Regions from separate parts of the Homo sapiens genome. Here all the other regions are linked to region 1. Evidence: promoter capture Hi-C in 16 types of primary human blood cells and fetal thymus (Javierre and others, 2016). All regions are on one chromosome and are shown on one strand. Each heading gives the region's core, a stretch centred on a gene start or on the middle of the fragment in contact. The rest is flanking DNA. Distances are from core to core; before and after follow the strand shown. Region 1 holds the start of MRPL14 (mitochondrial ribosomal protein L14). Region 2 overlaps RSPH9 (radial spoke head component 9). Region 3 has its middle 14 kb from the start of MRPS18A. Region 4 has its middle 30 kb from the start of MRPS18A. Region 5 has its middle 20 kb from the start of VEGFA. Region 6 overlaps LOC105375070 (a long non-coding RNA gene).

Region 1 (4,809 bases), core at 1,515-4,014:
GCTCGAGTGTATGCTCTTAACCACTGCACTTTGCAGAGTTATCTGCAAACAAGAGCCACTTCCACCAGGGAGCCGGAGGCAGTCAGTTACCACACTGGAGAAATGCCATACCCTATTTCTACCTGCTTGCCTTTCCTCTTGCTTGTAGCTTCCCTCCACTCAGGCCTTGGGTTTGTGATTTCAGGTTCTGAGGCAGGCATAGGGGACAGGCACCATAGTCTGGTGGTTAAAAGCACAGACTCTAGGATGTGACAGACCAGGCTTCTAACCTGGGAAAATTACTTAGTCACCCTGGGCCTCAGTTTCTTCATTTGTAAAATGGGACAATAATCCAGTTGTGTTGTTGTTCTGGGGATTAAACAAGATGACTTATGTAAAGCTCTTAATATAGTTCAAGGCATATAATGGGCTCTAGGAATTAGTTATTGTTATTAATAAGGTATGGAATAAAAGGGGTTGGTTTAGAGAAAGAAAATTGGTAAAAACAAAAATAAGATAAAAACACAGAATGTAACATGATAGAAATATAACAGAGCCCCTCAGTCAGGTTGGGCTTCTTATTTAGACCTAAGGGTTTACACTGTGTTAGGGACTCTGCCACTGAGTGACAGGGAATATTCTCACTCTTTGAACATACCCCATCCATCTGTGGTAGCCTGGGAGGTGGAGGCATGGGAGAGTTATGGGTCAGAAGTTCAGAGATGATAACCCATTATTGATCAATTACCAGGAAGGATGCCAAGCTCTTTACTTCTGTTACCTTGTTTGATTCCCATGATAAAACTTGTAAGGAGGTGGTAGTAACCACACTTTTTTTCTTTTTCTTTTCTTTCTTTTTTTTTTTTTTTTTGAGACAGTCTTGCTCTGTCACCCAGGCTGGAGTGAAGTGCCACAATCTCGGCTCACTGCAACCTCCGCCTCCCAGGTTTAAGCCATTCTCCTGCCTCAGCCTCCTGAGTAGCTGGGATTACAGGTGTGTGCCACCATGCCCGGCTAATTTTTGTATTTTTAGTAGCGATGGGGTTTCACCATGTTGGCCAGGCTGGTCTCGAACTCCTGACCTCAAGTGATCTGTCCGCCTCAGTCTCCCAAAGTGCTGGAATTATAGGCATAAACACTTTTTAATGAAAACTGAGGTTCAGACAGGTTAAGTAACTTGTCAAGGTCACACAGCTGAAGAATAGTAGAGCTAGAATTTGAACGCAGGTCTCTAAGACTCTGCTATACTTGGAGAGAACTTGAATGATGTCCAAGGGGGTTCTTAGTTACCCACTGCCTGCCTTCTGCCTTGCCATGTCCCCATCCACCCACAGGCCAAGACTGCACTGAGTGAGCCAACAGCAGGCCCCAGCATGTGCCACCTGGGGCATGCCAAGGCCTGGACCCTCTGGTGCCCTGGAGGACAATCACGCTGCCAGCACACCCCCACTTGAAGCCTGGCTGACACTCCCACTCCCCACCTCACCCTGGCCTGGGAGGCAGGATGGGCCCCTCTTCAGCAGGTGTTGGGCACAGCCTCATTGCTCCCCGGCTGCTGCAGACTGGTAATGGGTAGGCAAGCCCCAGCCCCCCAGGGCGGTGGAGTGCTCAGGCTTGCCCCGAGCGGCCAGACCTCTGCCCAGGGGACCCAGGCAGGGGGCAGCACAGCGCCCCAAGGGCAGCCAGCCCCTCTGACCTCTCCTCCCCACTTCCCAAGCGTCCTTTCCTTTTCTGGGGAACAAGGTGCCAAGCTTTGGGACTGTCCGCCTTAGGCGGTCAAGACAGCCAGGAGGGACAAAGCGGCGCCCCCTCCCCACAACAGGGCCTTTGCCCCACTCTCGGTTTCGCGTCTGAATCTTTTCCCCACCGCACCCTCCAACGCAGGCCCGGGCGGCTCATGAATGAACTGCACTGTGTGGGGCGCAAGGAGAGGACACGCTCCCGGGGCCGGCCGCCTCTCCAGCCCGCCGACCAGTCAGTCCCCAGAGCCGGGGGCAGCGGCCGGCCTCGTGCCAGCACCTGCGAACCCTGCCCTTGCCCGAGCCCGAGCCCTTACCCCGGACCGGCTTCGGGTGTACTCGCCCCCGGGAGCAGCAGAAAAAATAAAAGGCACAGAAGGCATCGGACTTGGCGACCCCGGGGTCCAAAACTCGGGGGCGGGGGCGGCTAGTTCCCCAAACGGCGGCGGACAGGCGGGGCGCAGCTGGCACCCCCGAGGGTCGCGCAGGGGACGCGCACCTGCACCGGGCAGGTGGGAGAAGAGTGGCACTCGGGGGCCGGGGGCGGGGGTCCCACCCTTTGGGATCTCCCCGGGGCTGGGGAGAGCCGGCGGCGCGTATCTGGACCTCCGGCAGGGGTTGGAGGACTCACATTTGGCTCGGGATGGTGCGGGGTTGGGGGCAGCGCGCGCCACCCCTGGGTCCCGCGGGCCCGGGCACCTCTGGGTCCCGCAGGAGGTTGAAGGGAGGGGACGCGCAGCTGAGTCCAGGTTTTTTCTTTGGGTGGTGGTGGGATCTTCGAAGAAAAGAGCGAGGGCTGGGTAGGGGTCGCGTACTCACCCCCAGGCGCAGACTCGGCTCCGGCTCGGAGCCCCGGGTTGGGGCGGGGCGGGGCTGGGGGAGGGGGAGGGGGAGTCGCTGGGCGGCTCGAGCTCCGGGCTCCTGCGGCGGCCGCGGCAGTGTATGGGGGAGGGGGAGCGGGGGGAGGGAGGGGGAGGGGGCGGAGCCCCGCAGGTCCCGCCCCGCACGCCGGCGCACGCAAGGTGCGCGCGCACTCTCAGATCGCGTCCGCCGGGCTGGGCCTGGCGCGCAGGCGCTAGGAAGAGGCCGCGTGGGGCGAAGGCGGCGCTTGGCTGGTGGGGCCCGCGGCGGGATTTTCCCGGGCGGCGAGAGCGGTATGGTGGGGGGCAGGGGTGGGCGTTAAGTCCTCATTCCCTCCTTCTCCTCTTCCTTTCTCTGCAGTAGGGGAGGCCCACTCCCCGGGGTGAGTGAGGAGAGGCCAGAGTGGGAGGCAGAGCGTCAGTGGGAGGGGTCCCGACGGGGAGGGGGGGGTCCCGACGGGGAGGGGGGTCCCGACGGGGAGGGGAGGCCCCTTACCCGGATCCTCCTCCCTTCCGCTCTCCGTGGGCTGCTTCTGCGACCCCCAAGTCCGTGGCCGGCGCTCACCTGCTTTCCCCGGGTTGCGGCGTCGACTTGGGGAGGGCGGGCTGCGTTCAGCCGTCGCTGGTCACTCCGGAGCGTCTCCTCCGGCTTCTCCGCTTTCCGCGCTCCCCTCCCCTTTCCCAACTTAGGTCTGGAGATGAGTTAGCCAGACGCCTCTGTGGTGTGAGGATTGAGTTTTTGCTTTCACTCTGTCAACGCTGATGAGTGCGCCCTCCCCCAGGCCAGGGGGTTCCCTGGTTTCTTATTTCACCAGAGACTGCATCTACCAGTGATTAAGACTGGAAAGATGAAGGGAGAGACTGAGACTCTTTCTATATATCACCCACACAAATAGATCATAAAGGCACAACGGGCACCAACCTGGTCATTTAATTTCTGGTTCCTGGAGGGGACAAAAAGGAAGTATTGCTTTCCACAGCCGACGATAAATGAACTTTGCCACCGTAAGAGACGGACGGGACTGAATTTATAAAGAGGTTAAAAGGGCATATGACAGACACCTCAGGCTACTTGGGAAACTCTGGGAGTTTGGGAGATAATTAACTCTCAGGGCTGGTGGTGGTGGGGAACTGCCACTGCTGAACAGAAGGACACTGCCCACCTGGGGGGTTTGGATCTTGTAGTTGGTCAGCGTCTCTGCTGTATGCTGGATTTTCAAGAGTTCATTAGTAGCTTGTGGAATGCAACTGTAAGGTTTGATTTATTGCAGTGTTTTTCAAACTGAATCCTATTGGTGAGTTGGAAATCAGTTTAGTAGATCACGGCCACTTGAAATAGAAAATATCAGAGGGTGTTGCACTTAGGGTATTGTTTCTTGACACTTCAGGTGTACACACACGTGTGAGTGTACTAGGAGGTGTTCTACAGTGTGTTTCTGTAGGTCGCAGTGAGAAAAATTTGAAAAGCGTTGTCTCCTGTGCCCTTCTATTTGCCCTCTTGCCTTTCTTTGCCTGAGTTTTCAGTCACTTAAAATTGTCTGAGGATGCAGTTAGCATGCCAGGAATATACAGTAAAGAACAAGGTGGATCTTCTTCACGGAGGTTACTGTGTGAGACGAAAGACAGTTCACTGTTCATCACTGGAAATACTGTACGTGCTACTGAAAAACAAGGATTTTATTGAGGTAAGAAGTTGGTTGGCTTAATTAGGAAGGGCAGTTTTTCAACTGTGAAAGAAAGGAAGATGGAGATGAAGCCCGTTTTTGGTAAAGTGCTTGGTGGGAAGGGTCTTTGTAGGTTTGGATTCTGGGAGTTGTGAAATTGGTGTAATCTGTTGCTTGTGTGGAACAATAAAATTCACTTTGAGGTCAAATAGTATTATAATGGATATCTGAAAAATGGAAGTGGAAGCCATAGTTGTCTGGTTTTTGGATTTCTGAGGATCACTAGAAGGCCTTTTTTTTTTTTTTTTTTTTTTTTTTTGAGACAGTCTCTCTTGCCCAGGCTGGGGAGATCTGGGTGCAGCAGTGCGATCTCAGCTCACTGCAGCTTCTCCTGGGATCTAGCAATTCTTATGCCTCAGCCTCCCGAGTAGCTGGGACTGCAGGCGCGAGCCACCACTCCTGGCTAATTTTTGTATTTTTAGTAGAGATAGGGTTTCACCATGTTGCCCAGGCTGGTCTCCAGCCCCTGACCTCAATCGATCTACGCAACTCAGCCTCTCAAAGTGC
Region 2 (4,809 bases), core at 1,452-3,951, 470 kb after region 1:
CCCCAGCCCTTGAGAGGGGCCCCAGAGAACTCACCTTCAAAGGTCCGATTGACATGGGTGGGTCCAAAAGGGGTCTTGAAGAGGGCGCCTCGGGGGATGATGGCCACAGCCTTGTCAATCTGGTCAATGACAGACACCAAGCGGGTCTCTTCCTTGATCTGGACCTGAGGAGACAGGAGAGGAGCCCCCCTGCCAGGGCACTGTGCCCAGGCACCCCGGCGCAAGGTCCCTCTGCACGGCCATCTCACCCGCACCACTGCAGTGTAGTGGACCCCAGAGCCACACAGATCACGCTGGGCAGGCCCTCGCCTTCCTTCCTATCAAGATTTTCTTCCTTTCTTTTTATTTGTTTTTTAATTCGTAATACATAAGGGTGGTATGATATTCAAAACTACAGGAAAAAATCAGTCTTTCTCTCACCCCAGTCCGAGACCCTAGTTGCCCTCACTGGGGGCAGCCACCATTGAAGGTTTCTCATGTACTCTTCCAGAGGCATACCATCCTATCAGCATATTTAACTGTTGCTTATTTTGCCTTTTTAAAATATAAAAGTAATCATGCTCACTGTAGAATATTTGGATAATATAGAAAGACATACCAAAGATAACTAAAACCACTCATAATCCTACCTCCTAAAGATAATCACTGATAACATATTGGTATACTTTCTTCATGTTTTGTTGTTATTGTTGCTGTCATTTTGTTTTTGTTTTGAGACAGGGTCTCACTCTATCATCCAGGCTGGAGGGCAGTGGCACAATCATGGCTCACTGCAGCCTCAACTTCCCAGGCTCAGATGATCCTCCCACCTCAGCCTCCTGAGTAGCTGGAAGTACAAGCACATGTCACCACATCTAGCTAATTTTTGTCTTTTTTTATTATTATTTTTATTTATTTATTTCTGAGACAGAGTCCTGCTCTGTCGCCCAGGCTGGAGTACAGTGCAGGGATCTCAGCTCACTGCAATCCCTACCTCCTAGGTTCAAGAGATTCTCCTGCCTCAGCCTCCTGAGTAGCTGGGACTACAGGCGTGCATCACTGCACCCAGCTAATTTTTGTATTTTTAGTAGAGACAGAGTTTCACCATGTTGGCCAGGCTGGTCTTGAACTCCTGACCTCAGGTGATCCACCCACCTTGGCCTCCCAGACTGCTGGGATTATAGGCGTGAGCCACTGCGCCCAGTCAATTTTTGTATTTTTGGTAGAGATGGGGTTTCTCCATGTTGCCCAGGCTGATCTCCAACTCCCGGGCTCAAGCAGTCTCCCTGCCTCAGCCTTCAAAGTGCTAGGATTACAGGGTGAGCCACAGCACCCAGCCCTCTATGCATATATTTAAAGCAAAATTAGAGTCACAGTTTATATTGTTTCATATCCTTCTCTTCAGTTTAACATTATTTTGCAAGCATTTCCCCATATCATACCCTTTTTACACAGATGAAATTTAGTTACAATTACTATCTAGGGCAACTCTGAACAAAAGGATTTCATAGAGATTTTGTGGAAGAGCTCGACAGAGAATGCGTGTCAACAGAGGCCCCTAGAGAGTCACGGAGCCACCTATTTGCCATGGGCAGCCTACCTGAATGGTTTACAAAAGAAAGGTAGAAACTAAGCTTTAATAAGTGCTGAGGCCAGTGTCTTTAAATATGTCACCTCATTTAATCCACACAAGCCTGCAAAGTAAATACAATTATCTCAATTTTACAGAAAAATAATAATAAAACTGAGGCTCACGGCTGGGCCCGGTGGCTCACGCCTGTAATCCTAGCACTTTGGGAGGCTGAGGTGGGCAGATCACCTGAGGTCGGGAGTTTGAGACCAACCTGACCAACATGGAGAAACCCTGTCTCTACCAAAAATACAAAATTAGCAGGGTGTGGTGGCGCATGCCTGTAATCCCAGTTACTCAGGAGGTTGAGGCAGGAGAATCACTTGAATCCGGGAGGCGGAGGTTGCAGTGAGCCGAGACCACGCCATTGCACTCTGGCCTGGGCAACAAAAGCAAAACTCCGTCTCAAAAAAAACAGGCTCAGGAAGATTAAGTCAATCAGGTAGGAGTGGGTGAGGATGCAGCTGAGGGCTCACAGACCTAGACTCAGACTTTCGGCATCACCCAGGTTCAAGTGCAACAGCTGTGCTTTGAATTCTGGGATTGTATTGTTTCAAAACATAGGCTCCTTACTTGTTAACTTAGCAAGTCTATTTCCAGGAATTGACTTTCCCAGGAATTACACACAATGGAAGTGATGTCTATATGGTCTTTTTTTTTTTTTTTTTTTGAGACGGAGTCTTGCTCTGTCACCCAGGCTGGAGTGCAATGACGCGATCTTGGCTCACTGCAACCTCCGCCTCCCGGATTCAAGCCATTCTCCTGCCTCAGCCTCCCGAGTAGCTGGGATTACAGGCGCCACTGTGCCTGGCTAATTTTTTGTATTTTTAGTAGAGACGGAGTTTCACTATGTTGGCCATGCTGGTCTCAAACTCCTGACCTCGTGATCTGCCCGCCTTGGGCTCCCAAAGTTCTGGGATTACAGGCGTGAGCCACCATGCCCAGCTATATGGTCATTTATTATGGTACTGTTTGTTAGAACTAAAACTTGGAAATCAGCTGGATGAAATGGCTCATGCCTATAAATCCCAGCACTTTGGGAGGCTGAGGTGGGAGGATTGCTTGAAACTAGGAGTTAAGACCAGCCTGGGCAACATAGCAAGACCCCATCTCTACAAAAAAATACAAAAATTAGCCAGGTATGGTGGTATGCACCTGTAGTCCCAGCTACTTGAGAGGCTGAGGCTGGAGGATCACTTGAGCCCAGGGAATGGAGGCTGCAGTGAGCCAAGATCGTGCCACTGCACCCCAACCTGGGTGACAGAGCAAGACTCTGTCTCAAAAACAAATAAAAATAAAATAAAACTTCGAAACCTACATTTTCATAAATAAGACACTGGGAAAATTATGGTACATTCCCACAATGGTGAAAAAAAAAAAAAAAAACCGGAAGTTGGGCATGGTGGCTCACGCCTGTAATCCCAGCACTTTGGGAGGCCGAGGCGGGCGGATCACCCGAGGTCAGGAGTTGGAGACCAGCCTGGCCAATATGGTGAAACCCCGTCTCTACTAAAAATATAAAAATTAGCCAGGCGTGGTGCCAGGTGCCTGTAATCCCAGCTACTTGGGAGACTGAGGCAGGAGAATCACTTGAACCCGGGAGGCAGAGGTTGCAGTGAACCAAGATCATACTACTGTACTCCAGCCTGGGTGTGACAGCGAGACTCCATCTCAAAAAAAAAAAAAAGAATGGGAAGGCTCTTTAAGACACTGATATAGAAAGATCTCCAAAATATATCATTAGGTGAAAAAAAGCAAGGTTCAGAATCATGTGTATAACATGCTGCCATTTTTTTTTCTTTTTTTTTTTTGAGACAGAGTCTCACTCTGTCGCCCAGGCTGGAGTGCAGTGGCCCGATCTCAGCTCACTGCAAGCTCTGCCTCCCGGGTTCATGCCATTCTCCTGCCTCAGCCTCCCGAGTAGCTGGGACTACAGGTGCCCACCACCACACCCGGCTAATTTTTTGTATTTTTAGTAGATACAGGGTTTCACCGTGTTAGCCAGGATGGTCTCAATCTCCTGACGTCGTGATCCACCCGCCTCAGCCTCCCAAAGTGCTGGGATTACAGGCATGAGCCACCGTGCCTGGCCAATGCCCAGGGGATTTTTTAGAAGGCAGATACCTGATGCTGGGGCCCAAGATCCTACATTTCTAACTCTTAGGACATGGTGAAGCTTCTGATCCAGACTCTACTTGGAGCAGAAAAATTTAGACACACAAGTACACATATGTACACACACATGCACATGCAAAATAGTTAACGTCAGACTGTGTGCGGTGGCTCACGCCTGTAATCCCAATACTTTGGGAGACTGAGGCGGTCGGATCACCTGAGGTCAGGAGTTCGAGACCAGCCTGGCCAACATGGTAAAACCCCGTCACTATTAAAAATACAAAAATTAGCTGGGTGTGGCATCAGGCACCTGTAATCCCAGCTACTCGGGAGGCTGAGGCAGGAGAATTGCTTGAACCCAGGAGGCGGAGGTTGCAGTGAGCTGAGATGGCGCCACTGCACTTCAGCCTGAGCAACAAAGCAAGACTCCGTCTCAAAAAAAAGAAAAAGAAAGAAAGAGAGAGAGAGTTAATGTCCCCTAAATAGAGGACCTGTGTGACTGGTGGACAGAGATGGGAGGAAACTTTACTATATTCCTTTTTGTACCTTTGAATTTTGTACATGCGGATTTATTATTTTGTGAAATGAAAACTGATACTAAAATATAAGAGCCTGTGCACATTCCCTGACCCCAGAGTACAGCACAGAGCACCCCCTCTTCCCAGTCCCCACCCCAGAGCCTACCCACTGCCTTTATCCAGTTGCTTAGGAGGTAGCTGTGTGTGGCCTTGGGCACATCACTTAACCTCTCTGAACTGGTAGGAGAATGTCCTCTTCTCTACCACCTGGAAACCAACTCCATAGGGTTTTAAGGATGAAATGAGATGATACAGGCACAGTAGCACATTGCCTAGCACACCCAGGTACCCAATAACCAACGTGTCACAAAGATAATAATAACATTAGTCATCAGGGATGCTGGCTCATGCCTGCACTCCTAGCTACTTGGGAGGCTGAGGCGGAAGGATTATTTGAGCCCAGGAGTTTGAGACCAGCCTGGGTAACATAGTGATATTCCTGTCCCAAAAAAAAAAAGGAAATAATGATCGTACTTGTTGCCATAATTTCTTTTTTTTCTTTTCTTT
Region 3 (4,809 bases), core at 1,203-3,702, 430 kb after region 1:
AGAAAGAGTGACAGTATCCTCTGTATTAAACAGCCCTGAAGTGTTTCTGCCAGGTCTGTTTCCATGCTTGCCTCTTCCGGCCTGGATTGTGGGTCTTGAGAGCAAAAACCTGTTTTATGCATCTCTGGGTCCCCGGCTTCATAGGTGATTCCAAATGCACCACATCCCTTCTTCAATGCCTGGCACAGCATGGTTCACACAGAGGACCCCTAGTAAATGTTTACCAGGTTGAGTCGCTTTGGTGAGGTGTGTGAACATGGAGAGATAAGACAGAGGGTGGAAGTTGGGCCAGATCTGGAGCAGAGCCAGAGGGTAATTAATAAAAACAGCTCACATTTATTGAGCATTTTACTACTTGCCAGGTGCTCTTCTCAATGCCTTTCTGCATTAGCTCATATAATCTTCACAACAACCCTACCAAGCAAGTTCCATTATTATCCCCATTGTACAGATGAGGAAACTGAGGCACAGAGCGACTAAGAAACAGTGTGTTGTTCAAATACTGTCATGTTCTATGGGTGCCATGATGTATCTGTGGCTAGGAAGTAGTTTTCTAGAACGTGGCTTTAAATTAGACTCACTCGGGGATCTTCTAAAACTCCTGATGCTCAGGCCACAAACTACACCAATTAAATCAGCATCTCTGGAGGATGAAATTGTCAATGGTAGTTTTTAAAGCTCCCCGAAAGATTCCAAAGCGCAACTGAATTTGGGAACTAGGGATCTGGGCCAAATCCTTTAATCCTTTATAATTAACGCACATGGAGATGTCACGGCGCAGAGAGAAGTGATTGCACAGGGGCACACAGGAGGGCAGTGGCTGAACCTCTGTCCTCCAGTGCCCAAGGTAGGTCTTCTTCTGCACCCCCAGCCCCTTCCTCCATGTTGCTGTAGGCACTGAGCTGGCAGGCTGCTAGGCCCACATGGATCTTACAGGTCTTGGCTCAAGGCTGGCTTGGAGGAAGATCCCCAGGACAGGCTAACTGATCCCCCTCATCCCAACGTGCCCCCATTCAAGCAGCTCCACAGGCTGGATGCCTTAGGGCAGAGCCCAACCTGGAAATTCTCCAGGCTTGGACACCACCCTGGATTTAGACAGAGCTCAGGGAGACTCAGGATGGGTGGGGCTTGGGGCAAAACACCACGGGAGTTGTGCCACAGTCACAGGCAAAAGAGCCGGGGCAGGCCCAGAGGCTAATTTCCCTGACCCCGCCCTGTGGGGCCTGTGTACTCCCCTCCTCCTCTCCCCACCCTCTGATGACGCACTGACCCCGGCCCTCCCCCTCAGTTCCCTCACCCCTCATTGGGAGGTGACGGAAATTCATTTCTGGCGGCCTGAGGGCTGTCAGCAACTTGTTTTCATTCTAGGGTCTGGCTGGTCCAGATAGGTCCATCCGGGCCCTATGTCACACAGGGGACACACACACAAACACACACACACACACACACACACACAAACACACACATTCACACACCCCAAACAGAACCTCTGGAGGAAAAGAAGGGAGGCACTCCAGGGGTTCTGAGTCACGGGATTCAGGGCATTCATAGCCAAATGCCACTCTTGGGAAAGCGGTGGAGCAGTTCACAAGGAAAGTCAAAGAGGCTGGACAGGGAACCAGTTCTCCTGTAGTCTTCCTCCGCTCTCCTCTAGCCCAGTGGTTCTCAACCCTGGCTGCACATAGAACCATTTAAGGAGCCTTTAAAAAACGCTGCTGCCTGGGCTCCAGCCCTGAGAGAGTTCAATTCAACTGTTCTGTTTAACTCCGGGGAGAGGCCAGGCCATCATCTTTTAATTCCCTGGTTGATGCTGATGAGCAGCCAGGAATGAGAGCCCTTGCTGATGGAATCATCCAGGCAGGATGGATTCACTCCCAATCTCACTGGGCAGATGGTCAGGGGAAGAGTCTGCCCTTTCTGTTGGAGAGGGGAGGGAGGTGTTGCAGGCAATATACCCCAAGACCTCATCTTCATGTCCATCATCAACACAATTCAGTAAAATGGTGGTTAAAGAACAGGAGCAGGTGCTCATTCTGGCTCTCCCCTTTCGTCACCTCGGACAAATTACTTGGCTTGTCAGAGCCTCAATTTCTTCATTCATAAAATGGAGAGAATAGTTGCCACCTAGGAGGTACTTGTGACAATTAAATGATTAAGTCTACACAGTCCTGAGCACATAATAAGCAATCAATAAAAAATAGGCTTTAATAATAAAAAAATGAAAGCCGGTTTGTACACCTATGTTCATAGCAGCTTATTCACAACAGCTAAAAGGCAGAAGCAACCCAAGTGCACATAAGCAAAATGTGGTTCGTACATGCAATGGAATATAACCTTAAAAAGGAAGGGAATGGCCAGGCGCAGTGGCTCACACCTGTAATCCCAGCATTTTGGGAGGCCAAGGTGGGTGGATCACTTGAGCTCAGGAATTTGAGACCAGGCTGGGCAACATGGTGAAACCCCATCTCTACAAAAAAATACAAAAAGTAACGGACATGGTGGCACATGTCTGTAGTCCCAGCTACTTGGGGGGCTGAGGCAGGGGGATCACTTGAAACCGGGAGGTGGAGGCTACAGTGAGCAAGATCATGTCACTGCACTCCACCCAGCCTGGGGGACAAAGTGAGACCCTGCCTCAGAACAAAAAAAAAAAAAGGAAGGGAATTCTGACACTTGCTGCAATATGGATGAACCTGAGGACATCATGCTAAGTGAAATAAACCAGTCACAAAGAGACAAATACTGAGTGATTCCCCTTATATGAGGCACCTAGAGTCATCAAATCCAGAGACAAAGTGAAAGCGTGGTGCCAGGGAAAGGGGAAGAAGAGGGAATGGGGAATTTGTGTAAATTAATGCAGAGTTTCAGTTTTATAAGATGAACAGAATTCTGGAGATAGAAGGTGGGGATGGTTGCCTAACAATATGAATTTTTTTTGTTTTGTTTTGTTTTGTTTGTTTTTTTGAGATGAAGTCTCACTGTGTCACCGAGGCTGAAGTGCAGTGGCGCAATCTCGGCTCGCTGCAACCTCTGCCTCCCAGTTCAAGCAATTCTCCTGCCTCAGCCTCCTGAGTAGCTGGGATTACAGGCACCCGCCACCACGCCCGGCTAATTTTTTTTTTTTTTAGATGGATTCTTGCTCTGTTGCCAGGCTGGAGTGCAGTGGCACGATCTTGGCTAACTGCAACCTCTGCCTCCTGGGTTCAAGCAATTCTCCCGCCTCAGCCTCCTGAGTAGTTGGGATTACAGGCACGTGCCACCACGCCCAGCTAATTTTTGTATTTTTAGTAGAGACGCAGTTTCACCGTGTTGGCCAGGATGGTCTCGATCTCTTGACCTTGCGATCCTCCCGCCTCGGCCTCTCTAAGTGCTGGAATTAAAGGCATGAGCTACTGCACCCAGCCAATTTTTTGTATTTTTAGTGGAGACAGGATTTCACCATGTTGGTCAGGCTGGTCTGGAACTCCTGACCTCAGGTGATCCACCCACCTTGGCCTCCCAAAGTGCTGGGATTACAGGCGTGAGCCACGGCGCCCAGCCATATGAATGTATTTAATACTACTAGAGCTATACATTTAAAAATGGTTAAGATGGGCTGGGCGCGGTGGCTCATGCCTGTAATCCTAGCACTTTGGGAGGCCAAGGCAGGCAGATCACCTGATGTTGGGAGTGCAAGGCCAGCCTGACCACCATAGAGAAACCCCATCTCTACTAAAAATACAAAAAATCAGCCAGGCGTGGTGGTGCATGCCTGTAATCCCAGCTACTTGGGAGGCTGAGTTAGGAGAATCGCTTGAACCCGGGAGACGGAGGTTGCAGTGAGCCAAGATTGTGCCATTGCACTCCAGCCTAGGCAACAAGAGTGAAACTCCATCTCAAAAAAAAAAAGTTAAGGTGGTAAAATTTATGCATATTTTGCCACAATTTTTAAGTTGGAGAAAGAAATAAAATAAATAAAAGACAAAATTAGCAATCCAGTTGCCCTGAGTGACTCTGTACTCCTAGAAAAGAGTGGACATATGGCCCTGGCTTCAGGCCTCCCCTTCTGAGATAGACACCAGGGGACAGATGCTCAATGAATGAACTCAGGATTTATGCTGATAATAAACAGGAAATAATAGATCGGTTTAAATATTTACATGGTGGTGTGCAGGCTTCAGGGCAAGGACATTACCAGGGAGGGGAGTGGGGGGTCAGACAGAAGACACAAAGAGAATGTAAATGTTAGTGGAACATGGGGCTGAAGCCACCCAGACGTGTCTTTCAAGCGCACTCAGGAAGAGAGGGACAACTGCAGGAGGGGAAAACCCCTGCCCAGGCTCAGGGAGTCTGCCAGAAGCCTGGGCCACCCCGTTCCTTCCTTCCAGGGGAGATCCTTGTTTACCTTGCGAGGCTGGAAGACAATGTAATCAAATTATGACTCATTATTCTAAATGACTTGTCTCCAGTGGAGAAGGCAGGCAGGGAGGCCGGGAAGGGGATACAAGTTGTTTTCCAGGACTTTGTTTGCTCATTTTCCAGCTCCCTCTGTCCCCAAGCCCTTTCCTCTCTTTCGGCCTCCCCCTGTCCTGGCCTCTCCCTCCCTCTTTCCCCACTCTGCTCTTTCCCCTCCATCTGCTCCTTGGGCATACCCAGGGTTGAGGGAGCAGAGCAGGTTCTTCTCAGTCTCGGCAGGTGACAATGAATAGGACAACAGGAATATCCTGCCCCCCAAGAAATCCCTTCCTCCCAACCAGAGAGCAAATGCAGTATCTCTATCTGGGATTGAAGTCAGGTCATTTGATTGAATAGGACTCTGTCTCTGACTTG
Region 4 (4,809 bases), core at 830-3,329, 410 kb after region 1:
CAAACAGGCTATTGTCCTGCTTGAAGTCACCTCCAGCAAGGGGAAAGATAGTACCCCATCCTCTTTCCACTCAAGCAGCCTAGGTAGTCATCATCAAAAAGGATCTCAGGACCAGGCGCACTCCTCCCAGGGCCTGCTGGCTCCAGCTCCCACTCTTGCTGCCTGCTCTGGTGCCCCCAGAACTTCCCTGGCCTTTGGGCCCTGAAGAATCCCTCCCCTGCCCTCTGCGCTCTGCCTTTGATGATCCTCCAAGTGGTGAAGCGTGGAGGGCAGGGAATGTGGGATGGGTTAGGGTTAATTCCCACTAGGCTGTGAGCACCTGAGGGCAGGAATCAAGCTTTTTCCATCCCTGTCTTCCTACACCTGGCACAGTGCCTGGCACATAGTAGGCTCAGAAAATGTGGCTGGATAAAAAGCAAGGCCATCTAAGGTATGGCTAGGAGAGGAAGAAAGGGCTGCATGGGGTGAGGAGGATAATCAGAGATGCTTGCTGCCCACTGGGTGCTCTGAAAGGAGGGTAAGGATCTGCCTACTCCTATCACCACTTGTGCGGGGAGGGGCCCAGTCAGGAGATGCCGGAGGAGTCCGGGGTTGGTGGGAACTGGATCCCGGCAGACCCTCTCCCCGCCCCACTGCCAGGCAGGGATCTGTGGGTGGGTGAGCATGTTTGGCTATTGTCTCTGATCTGTGCTCCTGCCGCTCCTCTTGATGGAGCACAGTCAAAGAGGTGGCTGCCATGGGGCCATGTGAGAGCTGTCCGGACACCCAGGGGTCCTCCAGGCCATTGGGTTCCACCCTCCAACTCCCATCTCCCCACCATTCCCAGGGCCCAGGCTGGCCCCACAAACAGGAACAGCTCCAAGCTGGGGTAGTTCAGCTCCAGATATCAGGCCGGGAGGGCTTTCAGGGATCCCTGGATGAGTCCAATGCTGGCACAGTGGGCAGATGGGGAAACTGAGGCTGGAGAGAGCAAGAATTTGCCCTCAGCCACAGAGCAAGGTTAGAGGCACAAGGACCCAAGGCTCCTGGCTCCCATTTCTGTGCTGTTTGCCATACCAGGTAGGGACCCTGGAGAAGAAGGGGTGGGTAGGTTTGGAGTGGGAACTCAAAAAATCCACCCCACTCCACCCCAGAGTAAAGAGCATGAGCTCTGAAGCCAGAAGAGCTGGACACAAATTCTAGCTCCACCTTCCATCATTCTAACCTTCAGCAAATGTCTTTAGCTGTCTGCGCCTCCGTTTCCTTAACTGTGAAATACATATAACAGTAATTGTAATAACCTCATAGTGATATTGGGAGGACTAAATGAGTGGACACATATAAAGTGCCTGGACAGGGCTCCATATGCAGTAAATGCTCAGTGAACACTAGCTGTCACTATCTTATGGTCCTCAAAAGGTCTCCGTGTCCTGTCGAAGTCCAAAGTCTTTCCTAAGCCAGCAAAAGGCCTTCCCCCAGGAATGATTGTAGTGAGAGGTGGCTCAGCCACAGCCATTTCCCAGGATGTGGGTGGAAGCCGGGGCCCTTCCCCAGTGCTCTCACTGACTCCACCCTCCGATCTCCTGTCTCAGGGACTCAGTGGCCGCTTGGCCCCTCCAGTCGCCAGCCTGTCTGCCGGGCTCTCACGCCTGATGCAGAGATAAACACATCCCACGATAGTATTGTTTCCCATTTCCCACAGCTCTCAAGTGAGATCTTAGAGGGTGGGATTAGCTGGGCATTTGGGCAGTTTCAGGGCTTGGAAGGGTTGAGAGAGGCTGTTCCCAGAGCTGGCCGGTCCCCAGTCTCTAAAGGCAGTGGAGGTGGCCAGGTGTGCAGGGAAGAGGTGAGGGGAGCGGCTGGGGCCCGAGTCTCTGGAACATTCTGCCACCATCTCCCTACACCACACACAGGCATATTGAGTCTAACAAGGAGGAAGTGTGGAGAAATAGTACGCCCTTCTCCACAGTCAATTCTCTCCCTACACCCAGATCAGAGCCTCTGGCCCCTGTATTCCCTCAGGTGGCTGATCCAACTATCAAGATGTCACCAGGGAATGGGAAACCCAGAGCCCTTGGCAGAGAGAGCCTGCAGCGCCCAGAACCCAGGCCCGGGGCAAGCTGGGCAGGCCGGAGGGAGGGCAGTCTGGGGAGATGGAGTGTCCAGGCTCGTGCTTACTTCATCGTTATGATCGTTATGGGTAGAGTCAGCCAGGGGAGAGAGGCCTTCCTCTCCCAGCCAGGGCGCGCCCCTCCTTTCCACCCCACTCCCCAGTACTCCCAGTACAGCCACTCTCATGACCTCACTGCTACGGCCAGGCCAGGCCAGGCAGGTGGCCACGAGCCAGGGACCCGCCAAAATCCACATCCCCCAGAGACCATCGTGAGCCAGGCAGGGGCAGGATGTGTTGCTAGAATAGCCTCCACCCACCCAAACCAACGCCCGCGAAGACAGCCTGTCCTACCAAGTGTTTACTCCAGCCAGGCAGACTCACCTCCCTCTCAACAAGGCTGAACCTAGGGCAGTCCTTCACTATGGACCCTGTCTGTCAGCCAGACACATCCCACCTCCTCCTCCTCCCCTGCTAAATCCTGCTCGGCTGTCCTGTCCTTCCCTGAGTGACTTACCGGCCTCTCACCTCTCCACCATTTTGCAGTGATGGTAGTGGGGGTAGAGGGGTTGTGATGGAGATGGTGACATGGACACAGAAGTACTGGTCGTGACAGCCATTATAGCAGTTTCAGGGTGGTGATGGTAACAGTGAAGGGGATGATGGTGAAGGTGATGGCGGTGGTGATGGAGGTGGCAATGATGGAGACAGCGATGGTGGTGGAGGGAGTGATGTGATTGTCATAGTGGGAATGAGGTGAGTAGGGATGCCTCCCTCTGTAGGGTACAGGACCATGAAGAAACCGTTGGCCATGTCACTGAGGCCTACAGGAACATCGTGGTGAGTCGAGATTTTCTAGGGCATCCAGCACAGCAGGCCCCCAGAGCAGTAATGGCCTCTTCCCCTGTTTCCCAGTAGAGCATCATTATGTTCCCCTCTCAGACTCCTGGAGACCCCTCCAACTTGAAAGCAAGTGTCATCTGCCCTGGAATCTACTGGGGCCACCCTTGAAAGAAGGTGGACAGAGGCCAGGCTTGGGAGACAGAGGATCCTGGGTTGGAATCCTAACTAAATGGAGTTCACTTGGGTCTGAACCTCACTGTAAAATGGAAACCATAATTCTCTGTGGCAGGGTCATTGTGAGGATAGAGATAAATATCTTTAAAAGTGCCTGGCACAGAATAGTGGCAAGATAAATGGTCAATATTTTGTATCCTGTTTTCCAAGGCTTTCTTATGAAGCCTCCACCTACCCACTCCCCCCACCCCAACCCTCCTCCATATGCCTCCCTGTCTTCATTTTCTAGAGCTGCCGAAACAAATGACCACAAACTTGGTGGCTTAGAACAACAGAAATTTATTTTCTCACAGTTCTGGAGGCCAGAAGTCTGAAATTGAGATGCCAGCAGGGCCAAGTTCCTGTCCAGCTTCTGGTGGCTCAAAGCATTCCTTGGCTGTGGGCTCCAGTCTCTGACACCACCTTCACATGCGTCTTCACACGGCTGTCCCCACCACGTCTCTCAGTGTTTTTACTTGTTTCTTAGGAGGACGCTTTCACTGGATTTGGGGCCCACACTAATCCAGCGTGATCGCATCTCAATCCTCACCTTCATTACCTCTGCAAAGATCCTATCTCCAAATAAGGTCCCATGCTCAGGTTCCAGGTGGGCATAAACTTTGGGGGTCTCTATTCAATCCACTACATTCCCCAACCTCAGAGTGAGCCAAGCTTAATTCCCCAGACTCCCTATTACCTGGCACAGCCATGGTCCCTGCCCAAGCCTGCTTCCAGACCCCCACCCCTCTGCCCCTGCATGTCCCAGGTCCCGTGGCCCTGCGCCTGGGCTCCCCAGTGCCATGCGTGCATGCCTATGTGCATGTGCACAGATTCCCCCTTCACTTGGCGGTGAGAAAGGGGGATTCTAGGCTTCAGCAGGAGCCTACAGGGGCCTCTCTGCTCGGAAATGCTTCTTCCTCTCCCCCTGGCAGCTGTTTGGCTTGGCGGGGGCCCATCTGGCAGGCTCAGCAGCCAAGGAGCCCTAGGGGGCAGTGGGAGGGAATGGTGAGGGGCAGGCAGCTCCGTAGTCCTCAGGCCCAGGCCCTGGGAGCTGGGCCAATGGCGGGCCTCCCTGCTGGCTGGCTCCAGCCCCTTCGCTCTTGGTTCTCCTCCTCCCTGGTCTCCCGTCCTCCCCATCCTGTAAAGGGGAATTCTGGAGACCCTCCACCACCCTGCACTAGCCAAGGAGAAGACGTGCAGAAGAGGAGCAGCAACTGGCAAAGCAAGAAACACACCCAGGGAAAGGGCAGTCAGTGGCTCCTGAGGATCCGCTCATGGGGGCTCTGGATACTCTTTGAGGGCACCCTAGGACAACCTGGACTTCTCCCAACCTCTGATATTCTGTCCTCTGCTCCTTCCATGTTCCTGAAATTTCCTGTCCCTGGTGTCCCCTCCAGGGCACTTGCCTTCTTCCAGGGCCCCTCTGAACCCCCAAGCTGTTGCCTACTTTTCTGGGTCAGGCCTCTCTTCAGTAAGCAGGACAGAAAATGATGCCCTCAGCCCCTAGCAGGTCCTACAACCTCTTTCTACTGATGGGAAAATGTAAAACACATGCGCACACACGCACACACACACACACACACACACAGGGAGGGGCACAGGATAATGAGCCTGGGCTTTAGGGTTCATTTGGCCTGGGTTCAAGTTGCAACCCTGCACTTGAC
Region 5 (4,809 bases), core at 662-3,161, 380 kb after region 1:
TTTTTTTTTTTTTTAGGAAGGGAGCCAAAGGCCAAAAGCCTACAGCACCCAGTATTCCAAGGTGGTCTCCCATCCAAGCACTAACTAGGCCCACCCTGCTTAGCTTTACAAGATCAGATCAGATGAGATCAAGCACATTCAGGAGAAAATATTCTATCTTTTCACCATTATAGTTTTTTTTTTTTTTGGTAGAGGCTTATTATCAGGTTGTGGAAGTTCCTTTATATTCTTAGTTTGCTTAAGTTTTAAAAATCAGAAATGCATGTTGTGTTTTGTCAAATGTATTTTCTACATCTATTGAGATGATTGTATGGGTTTTTCTTTTTAATTTGTTAATATAATGAATTACATTGAATTGTTGAATGCTAAACTAACCTTGAATTCCTAGGATAAGCTCTACTTGGTCATGATGTTATTAGTGTACATGTATATACACTAGTACATATATATATACTAATACACATATAGATGATACAGCATACTACATACCTAGGCTATGTAGTATAGCCTATTACTTCTAAGCTACAAACCTGTATAGCATGTTACTCTACTAAATACTGTAAGCAATAGTAACACAATGGTAAGTATTCATGTATCTAAACATTGAAAAGTTGCAGTAAAAATACAGTATTATAATCTTATAGAATCATCATCATACATAAGGTCCATCATTGACCAAAAAATCATTATGCAGTGCATGAATATGTATATATAGTATGTGTATAGGTGATAGAGTTCAATTATATTTACATGAATTTGGTGTAGAAATTTTTCATCTATACTCATGAGAGATATTGGCCAGTAGTTTTCTGTTCTTGTAGTATCTTTGTTTGGTTTTAGCCTTATCTGATGAGTTGGGAGGTATTTCTGCCTCCTGAATATTCTAGAAAAGTTTGTATAGAATTATTATTATTTCTTCCTTAAATGTTTGGTAGTATACATCAGTAAAGCCATCTGGGCCTGGATTTTCTTTGTGGAGAGGCTTTCAACTGCAAATTCAGTCTTTAAAAAATTACATATAAGTCCATTCAAGTTATCTGTTTCTTCTAGATAACCTGAATGGAGTGGAGTGGCACAATCTCAGCTCACTGCAACCTCCACCTCCCAGGTTCAAGCGATTCTCATGCCTCAGCCTCTCAAGTAGCTGGCATTACAGGCGTGCGCCACCACACCTGGCTAATTTTTGTATTTCTGTATTTTTAGTAGAGATGGGGTTTCACTATGGTGGCCAGGCTGGTCTCCAACTCCTGACCTCAGGTGATCCGCCCACCTTGGCCTCCCAAAGTGCTGGGATTACAGGCATGAGCCATCACGCCCTGCCTCTGTTTCTTCTTGAGTAAGCTACCATAGTATGTGTCTTTGACAGAATTAGTTCATTTCATCTAAGTTATGGAATTTATTGGAGTAAAATTTTTCATAATATTACCTTCTTATCTTTTTACTATCTATACAGTCTGTAGTCAATCACAGCTTTCATTCCTGATACTGGTAATTTGTGTCTTCTCTTTTTTTCCCGATCAATCTGGCTAGAGGTTTATCAATATTATTGATTTTCTTGAAATAACAGCTTTTGGTTTTATTGATTGTCTCAATGTTCTTCTATTTTCAACTTCATTATTCTCTGATATTTTTCTTTTTTTAGACAGAGTCTCGCTCTATCACCCAGGCTAGAGCGCAGTGGTGCAATCTCGGCTCACCACAACCTCCACCTCCCAGGTTCAAGCAATTCTCATGCCTCAGCCTCCCGAGTAGGTGGGATTACAGGCACTTGCCACCACGCTGAGTTAATTTTTGTATTTTTTAGTAGAGTTAGGGTTTTGCCATGTTGGCCAGGCTGATCTCGAATTCCTGACCTCAAGTGATCCACCTGCCTCGGCCTCCCCAAGTGCTGGGATTACAGGCGTGAGCCGCCGCACCTAGCTACATTTTTCTCTGATCTTTATTATCTAATGTCTTCTCCTTACTTTGTGTTTAACTTGCTCTAGTCAAAGGTTTTTAAATTCATTAAAAATGTTAAACTATAAAACAAAAAGTACAGAAATAATTTTTCATCTGATTTGTGCTCTAAAATAAACTTTTCATTTCAAAATTTCTCAGTCTGAAAACACATCCAATCATTTATTCATCAAATATTTATCGAGCACCTACTATGTGCTAGGCACTATTCTAGGCACCAGAGATAGTGAATAAAACAAAGGTCATGCCCTCACTGACCTTATATTCTAATTGGAGATGCACAACAAACAGATAAATATATCATAAGTTCAAATTAATTATGTAGGCCAGGCGTGGTGGCTCATCCCTGTAATTCCAACATTTTGGGAGGCCGAGGCAGGTGGATCACTTGAGGCCAGGAATTCAAGACCAGCCTGGCCAACATGGTGAAACCCCGTCTCTACTAAAAGTACAAAAATTAGCCAGGCGTGGTGGTGCACGCCTATAGTCCCAGCTACTGGGGAGGCTGAGGCAAGAGGATTGCTTGAACCTGGGAGACGGAGATTGCAGTGAGCCAAGATCATGCTACTGCACTCCAGCCTGGGTGACAGAGCAAGACTCCATCTCAATAAAGAAATAACCACTCACATACACACACACACAAATGGACTATGTAATTTGTTGTTGTTGTTTGTTGATTGGTTTGAGACGGAGTCTCACTCTGTCACCCAGGCTGGAGTGCAGTGGCGTGATCTTGGCTTACTGTAACCTCTGCCTCCCGGGTTCAAGTGATTCTCCTGTCTCAGCCTCCAGAGGAGCTGGGACTACAGGCACACGCCACCACGCCTGGCTAATTTTTGTATTTTTAGTAGAGATGGTATTTCACCATGTTGGCCAGGCTGGTCTTGAACTCCTGACCTCAAGTGATCTGCCCTCCTGAGCCTCCCAAAGTGCTGGGATTACAGGCATGAGCCACCATGCCCGGCACTGACTATGTAATTTAATAAATAAATTTATTTTTTAAAAATAGTGTTGATAAATGCTATGCAGACAAATAAAGCAAGGTGAGGGGATAGAGACTGAGCAGGTTTTGGGGGAAGGGGCTGTTTCTATTTTAGATGAGGTCAACAAAGGGCTCATTCTGAGTAGAGATCTGAAGGAAATGAGGGGGAACGCCTGGAAATATCTAGGGAAAGGGCATTCCAGGCTGAGACAGAAGCAAGGGCAAATTCCCTGAAACCAGAACATGCTTGTCTTTTTGAGGAAAAGTAAGAATGTCTAAACGGCAAAGGAGAGAGGTAGCTAGGGGCCAAAACATGTAAAGCCTTATAGGCCACTGTAAAAACTTCATATTTAATTCTAAGTGTGGTAGGGAGAATTCTAAGATGACCCACCAAAATCCCCTGCTCCTTGGTTTGCCCCTATACATAATCCCAGGACTGTGAATATGATAGGTTTCACCCCCGCAGTTAGGTTGTTCCATGGCATAGGTGACTCTAAAAATGAGATTATCCATGGCCAGGCCTGGTGGCTCATGCCTGAATCACATGAGCTCAGGAGTTCAAGACCAGCCTGGGCAACATAGTGGGACCCCCTCTCTACAAAAATTTTGAAAATTAGCCAGGTGTGGTGGTGCACATCTGTGGTCCTAGCTGCTCAGGAGGATGAGGTAAGAGGATCACTTGAGCCCAGGAGTTCAAGGCTGCAGCAAGCCATGATCACACCACTGCACTCTATCCTGGGCAACAGAGTGAAACCTTGTCTCAACGACAACAAAAACAAAAAGAACTCAGTTCAGCTGACATTTTGATTTCAGCCTTGTGACACCCTGAGCGAGAAGCCCACTCACACTGTCCCTGACTTCTGACCTACAGAACTGTAGGCTAATCAATAGGTGTTATTTGGAGGTGCTAAGTTTGTGGTCATTTGTTGCACAGCAATAAAAAAGCTATTATGTTCTATATGATGGGAAGTCATAGATACACAGACCCTTTCTTATGAGTTTGACTTTAATATCACCCTAATTAGAGAGTAAGCTCCCTAAAGGCAGAAACCAACAGTCTACATGTCTCCTGCACTAGACTGCGCCAGGCACCTAGTGGACACACAAGAAATATCCCATAAATAAGTAAAAAATGTGTTGAACAAAGGCGAGCTCTTTGGAAAACTTGCCTGGCCTCTTGTACTGACCACTTTGAAGGACTGCTGATATTTGTAGAAGTTCTTTCAGAAAAATTGCATTCTGTGTATGCACAGCTTGCCTTCAGTCCTGCCTTGTTTGTGGTGGGGCATGGGGTAGGACGACCTCTCTTTAAATGCAGCATGTTGCACCAGAACTCACCTTCCATTCAAACATGGCTCCAACAGACTTCCCTTTCTGTTGCCACCATCTTTGGGGGACCCAAGTTCTGAACCTTGGGCTGATGCTCAATTCCTCCTTCTGTTACCCTCTCCATAGTCAGAGTCCTGGAGATTGATTTTCCAAAATGCCTTTCTATGAGTCCTAGCATCTGTGTTCCCACTGCCATCAGCCTATCTGAGGCCTCTCAGCTCTCACCTGCGTGATGGCAAAGGGCTCCCAGCAAGCTTCACCATCTCTTCTGCCCTGTGCTCAATCCACCTTGGTCACCACCACCTGGCTAATCTCCCTTAGATAACACTTGGTACATGTAAGCCCTTCCTCTAAAACTTTCATAGGCTCATCATTGCACACTCAAGTGAGCGGGGTGCCCCATAGTGAGCTGTGAGCATCTTGAGAGCAAGGGCCAGGTGTTTAATGTCTTTGAGGCATCATTGGTGTTCAACATCCATATGAGGCTGTTGATGGCAATGGTCATGACCATGAACATGAGAAGGATGTCTTTTCTTTTAGGT
Region 6 (4,809 bases), core at 613-3,112, 310 kb after region 1:
TCTTCCACCAGGTAAGCAAAGTCCACTCCAGAGCCAGTGTCTATTTCTGTCAAGACCCACTTGTAGCCCCTCAGGGTACCACTCACTTGCCAGCTTTCTTTAGGGCCTTCCCACCAGGGAAATGGCCACATAGCCATTGGCAGTCTCTGGCTCTCTTGCTGACAAACAGAACAGTCTTATTAGCAGTTTGTGCCGGAGAGGGTACAAAAGGAACATGTCTAGATCCAGCCCTTCTCTGCACCCCCATCTCTGCTCATTTCAAGGACCCAGGTGAACACCTCAAAGAAACAGAGATATCTGCTTGTCAATTCCAGTCACCTTGCAAACATGGAGAGGGGCTTTCTTAGTGGGCGTTGACATGTTCTACTTTAAGGCACCCCTCAGATTTCCACAGGGCCATGCCCCGTAAGGGCATTTCTTCAATAAGCCAGGTTTCTATTGCCCTTCTGCCTAACCATCTGGCCAGGCCATTGGCCAATGCCCATGAGTCGGTAAAAACCCAACCACAGGGGCTTCTGGCATCGTTCAATTCTTCCATCGCTGTTAGGAAAGCAGCATGTGATTCAGCCCACCAAGCTGATTAGTTTTTACCTTCTTGGATCATAGTAGCAGCCTTCCAAACAGGAGGTTGTCCATTTACCTTGGAACTGCCATCCACAAACCAAGCAGCTATTTGCTGGTCAGTTGAGAGCACTGTAGGATCCACAGCTCCTCACACAGTTCCACAGTCAGTCCTAGGGTGTAATGAGGCTCCCTGCTCATATCTCCTCCTTACATTCCTCAGGTTGCATGATTCTGTATAAGCCATTTCCATTTTATTATGGAACCCTCCTGGGCACTGCTGTCCTCATTAGAGTGTTTTTCTGACATCACCCGGGACAGCATGGATGTTTCAGGTGTCAAGATCATTTTATGTCCTTCAGACATGGGGTACCAAGGATACAATGAACAGATGCGTAAGACAAGGTATGCAGGAAGGACGTGGAGCTTCCATGCCCTCCCTGGGCGCACCGCCCTCCAGGAACGGCCATGTTTCCAGCTATCCAGAAGCTTCCCACTTTTCTAATGCTCACTAACTACTCCTTCCATAATCCACAAGGATCCTTGCCCAGGACTCTTTTTAAAACTCAGAACCACGTTTTTCCCTTCTCAAGGCCCCCGTGCTCTTGGCTTTCTCAGGTGGGACAAAGTGGCCCCAGCAGTCTGGTTCACAAGCTTCCTTTGTGCCCCAAGTGTTGTTTTATGGGGAGAGGCCCTTTGAACACCCCAGCAGCAGTGGAGAGGGGAGGGCCCATCCCACCTCCAGGGCTCCCTGGGCCTCTGTGTCATCTACTGCTGCCCTCTGGGTTTGCAGGCTGCTCTCCTGCCAGGGGGCAGCAAGGAGCCCTACTCTTCGTACACTCCCCACCCGTGCTGTGTCATCAGGCCCAACTGCAGCCTCTGGATCCCTTGATCTTGACTGGCTATGATCACAGCTAAACAAGCCTGGGTTGCCCCTAGCATCTTTCACAAACCTCTACCTATTTTTATCTTCCAGAAACTCTCTTTACAGGCCCGTAGTCCTGTCTCACATCTGTCCTTCCCTTCTCTGTTCAAGCCTCCTTAACACAGCAATTTGGCAAAGAGCTCTCCTGCCACACACTGATTTCTGTGGTCACCTCCCTTCTTCCTTCATTACTGGGACGCAGACTACCCTGTGTGGGATTGCACAGTGTCATGTACATTTTTGAGAGCTTCCCAGCCCTCTTGAGACAGCTATCCCACCCAGAGATTCGTGGCATGGAACCCTGCCTGTCTTTTTGCTGAAATATTGGCAGTCTGACTTTGGAAAGTCTGTTCCAGGCCCAAGTCTGTTCCAGGCCCTCCACAGCTCTCATCTGGATGGCTGCAAGAACCTCCTTGCTGGTCTCCCTGCTGCACTCTGAGCTTCTCACGGCCTCTCCCACCCACCCAATCTCTGTACCAGCATTGAGTAATATTTCTAAATTGCACAGCCAGCCCTGCCCCTGCACTGGCAGAAGCCAGGATAAATTGGTTAGACAAGGTTGACAGCATGACTTTCAAAGCCCACCGTGGCCTGGTTTCTTCCCCTCTCCACCTGCACCTCCTCTCTCTCTCTCTCTGTCTCTCTCTCTCCCCATCACTTAACTAAATATCTAATTGTGCTCACTTTCCTGGACATACTAGGTTATTTCACATGTCTATTTCTGCTTCTGCTCCTGCTGTCAATCTACCTAGGATGACGTTGCAACTGTTCTTGATACAGCTGCTCTAAAACTCACTCAGGAGCCACCTTTTCCAGGAACCCTTCCCTGAGCCCCCAAGTTAGGCCAACTCTGCTCCTCTGGTTTCTCTTTGCATCCTGAGCCTATCCTAGCTCTTACCACACAAGGCAGGCACTGCTCATCCTACCTAACAGTGATTCTGCTCCACCCTTTCTTCCTTGCCACCAGAACCTCACCTTTTCGGGTGACAATGTATCTAGGCCCAGAAGATGAGTCAAGCTTCATCTAAGACATCACCAGCATCCTGTTCCTATTTGCTAGTCCCTCAGTTTCCCAGCCTCCCTGAAGCATTTCCTCTCAGTTGTGCCCAATGATACATGAGAGGTCATTTTCAGAGGGGGTATCTGGGAAACACGTTTCTTCCCTGATAAAAATAGAGCCCCTTTCTCTCCTTGGCTTTTTTCTTTTCTGCCTTGAATATAATTATAGGAGTCACCATAGCAGCCATCTTGTGACCAGGAGGCAACAAGCATGGAGACAAAAATTAACACGTTGAAGATGGCAGAGCAGAAGGATAGAAAAAGGCTGAGTTTTGATAGCATCATTGATGTCATCCTTTCACCAAAGCTGGAACCCTCTGCCTCCAGACTTCCAGTGATGTGATATTGATCAATGTCTTTATTGCTCAAGCCACTGTCTGTTGGGTATTCTGTTGCTTGATACCAAATATATTCCCAACTGATGTGGGCTGTCATAAAAACAATCTTGGTATCTGCCTCCATGACTAGACTCCTTGAGGGCAGGAATGGTGTCTTATTTTTCTTAGTATTCCCAGAGCCTAACACAATGACTCAATAAATTATGGTTCGAAGGAATTAAACTGATGACTTCCCTTCCCTCTCGATTACAAATAACAGAACAGGTCCACTTTAAATTTTTTTTAATTTTTAAATTTTTTTTTTTTAGAGACAGGGTTGCACTATGTTGCCCAGGCTGGACTTGAACTCCTGGGTTTAAGTGGTTCTCTCACCTCAGCCTCCTGAGTAGCTGGGACTACAGGTGCACTCCATCAAGACCAGCTGGTTGCCTTTAGCCCAGGTTTGCCCTGTCACTGAAGCTTTTCCAACCAATCCCTCCTTCTTCCATTCACTTCCCCCACCCTCTGAAAGATTAAATGGTCCCCAGAGCCAGTTGAGAACAGTCCAGATGCTCTGCCCTAGCAAGTCCTCACAGGTGAGGTCCCCACCCGCTGTGTTGCCTTGGGCCAAGTGGTCATCGAGAAGGCGCCATCCACCTCCTCCTGCTGCCTCCATGGCTGGAGGACAGGACACACCCTGTTAGCCCTGATATCTGGATCCAGATTTCTGCTGTTCCAGAGAACCTCACCTTCACTCTCTTTAGGAATAGAACTTCCTTGAAGCCAAAAAGTTGGCTTTCAGAACAGGCCCCAGGCCTAGGCAAGTACAGACACCTGATTAACAAAGAGGCCATCTGGGTCAGCCACTCCCACTCCAACTGCCATACCTACCTGCCTTTCCTGAGCTTGGCTTGGGAAAATCTTAAGTTCCAGAAGGAACCACCACCCTGTGCCCTAGGTCTGCTCATTAAATATAGATCTAATTATTTATGGTACAAAATATACTTTTAAAACCTAATCAGTGTTGAGCACTTAAAGACTGATAGCATTTCGTATCGATTACTGGGGGCTCCAAATATGTGTACTAAATACTGAATGCAGAACTCAGCTTCTTATAAAACTTCACAGAAAGTATCACCCAAGGACAGCTCTCTGACTCGCCCACATTGACATTTGGTAACTGGCCTCGCCTAGGGACTCACCCATCACCCCTCAGTCCCCCTGTGAAGCCTTCAGACAGAGGCCCACCTCATGGAGGGCTCCAGCCGGGTGCTCTCCAATGTGCCTGCCCATTTCTGCTCCCACCAGCCAAATCAAGCATGTCCCAAAAGCCATTATTTCTGTCCCCAAACCTGTTTGCCAGTTGTGCTTGTTATTGTAAGTATGCAGTTTAATAAAATATGACACAAAACAATGAAATATGATGTGAAAAGAAAGAGTTTTCTTCTTTTCTTAAAAATCCAGGTTGAACACTTTGGAAGAGTTTGGTAACAGGAAACAGCTGAAAAAATTGCCATTGAGCAAGGCATAGAAGAGACAGACTATAAAGAATGGTGCTGGCGGGCAGGGTGGAGGGCCTATTCTGGAAGGAATCTACCCTTGATTGGTTCTTAAGAGCCAGGAAGTTCTCACTCCACTTTAAATAAACCAAAACCAGAACCCAAAGAAGTGAATATAATGGGTTAGTTTATGCCAGAAGACCATTCATGGCACAGGAGGGCCTGTGCCCAGGGGAAGGCTTCATTCATACATCAAAATGCTGGCACATGTTAGCACATCCATAGGGCTCCAATTAAAATGAAATCTTTACATTGTACAGGTTTTCTTTCTTTATGATCATTTGTCAAACTAACCAACTACAAGCCTTGATGGTATTGGATAGGAGGGCCTCACCGCACCAATTGTAAGTCCTGCAGCAAAGGCTTTATCACTGAGCCCCTGTTTCCT

What was found. Contacts are between HindIII fragments. The CHiCAGO score rates a contact against its expected background, and 5 or more counts as called.
Region 2: a contact is called between a fragment that was not itself captured here and the fragment with the promoter of MRPL14 in region 1, in 2 of 17 cell types (monocytes and non-activated CD4 T cells). The highest score is 5.4, in monocytes.
Region 3: a contact is called between a fragment that was not itself captured here and the fragment with the promoter of MRPL14 in region 1, in 4 of 17 cell types (neutrophils, monocytes, activated CD4 T cells and 1 more). The highest score is 5.5, in neutrophils.
Region 4: a contact is called between a fragment that was not itself captured here and the fragment with the promoter of MRPL14 in region 1, in 6 of 17 cell types (naive CD8 T cells, erythroblasts, naive CD4 T cells and 3 more). The highest score is 8.1, in naive CD8 T cells.
Region 5: a fragment that was not itself captured here is called in contact with the fragment with the promoter of MRPL14 in region 1 in 2 of 17 cell types (monocytes and neutrophils); the score reaches 6.1 in monocytes.
Region 6: a fragment that was not itself captured here is called in contact with the fragment with the promoter of MRPL14 in region 1 in 1 of 17 cell types (monocytes); the score reaches 5.6 in monocytes.

Annotation. Positions count from the first base shown.
Region 1 is chr6:44,125,407-44,130,215 of GRCh38, reverse strand. It overlaps MRPL14 (mitochondrial ribosomal protein L14), which reads left to right and starts at 2,764. Exons shown (of 3, transcript NM_032111.4): 1 at 2,764-2,872. TMEM63B (transmembrane protein 63B) reads right to left here and starts at 2,662. Exons shown (of 24, transcript NM_018426.3): 1 at 2,538-2,662. RefSeq lists silencers at 1,982-2,141, 2,322-2,431, 2,472-2,871, 2,892-2,941, 2,972-3,031. The HindIII fragment of the contact is 11,989 bases long and covers 1,733-4,809 here.
Region 2 is chr6:43,650,917-43,655,725 of GRCh38, reverse strand. RSPH9 (radial spoke head component 9) reads right to left here. Exons shown (of 5, transcript NM_152732.5): 3 at 35-164. Among named protein-coding and RNA genes, the nearest start is that of RSPH9, 8.3 kb to the right of the region's middle. The HindIII fragment of the contact is 2,172 bases long and covers 1,616-3,787 here.
Region 3 is chr6:43,699,370-43,704,178 of GRCh38, reverse strand. No RefSeq gene overlaps it. Among named protein-coding and RNA genes, the nearest start is that of MRPS18A, 14 kb to the right of the region's middle. RefSeq lists a silencer at 1,088-1,187 and an enhancer at 290-1,275. The HindIII fragment of the contact is 6,909 bases long and covers 1-4,809 here.
Region 4 is chr6:43,715,543-43,720,351 of GRCh38, reverse strand. No RefSeq gene overlaps it. Among named protein-coding and RNA genes, the nearest start is that of MRPS18A, 30 kb to the right of the region's middle. The HindIII fragment of the contact is 3,480 bases long and covers 340-3,819 here.
Region 5 is chr6:43,748,177-43,752,985 of GRCh38, reverse strand. No RefSeq gene overlaps it. Among named protein-coding and RNA genes, the nearest start is that of VEGFA, 20 kb to the left of the region's middle. The HindIII fragment of the contact is 5,224 bases long and covers 1-4,523 here.
Region 6 is chr6:43,813,942-43,818,750 of GRCh38, reverse strand. All of the region lies in intron 1 of LOC105375070 (a long non-coding RNA gene), which reads right to left. Among named protein-coding and RNA genes, the nearest start is that of LINC02537, 36 kb to the left of the region's middle. RefSeq lists enhancers at 1,418-1,477, 1,598-1,647. The HindIII fragment of the contact is 1,289 bases long and covers 1,218-2,506 here.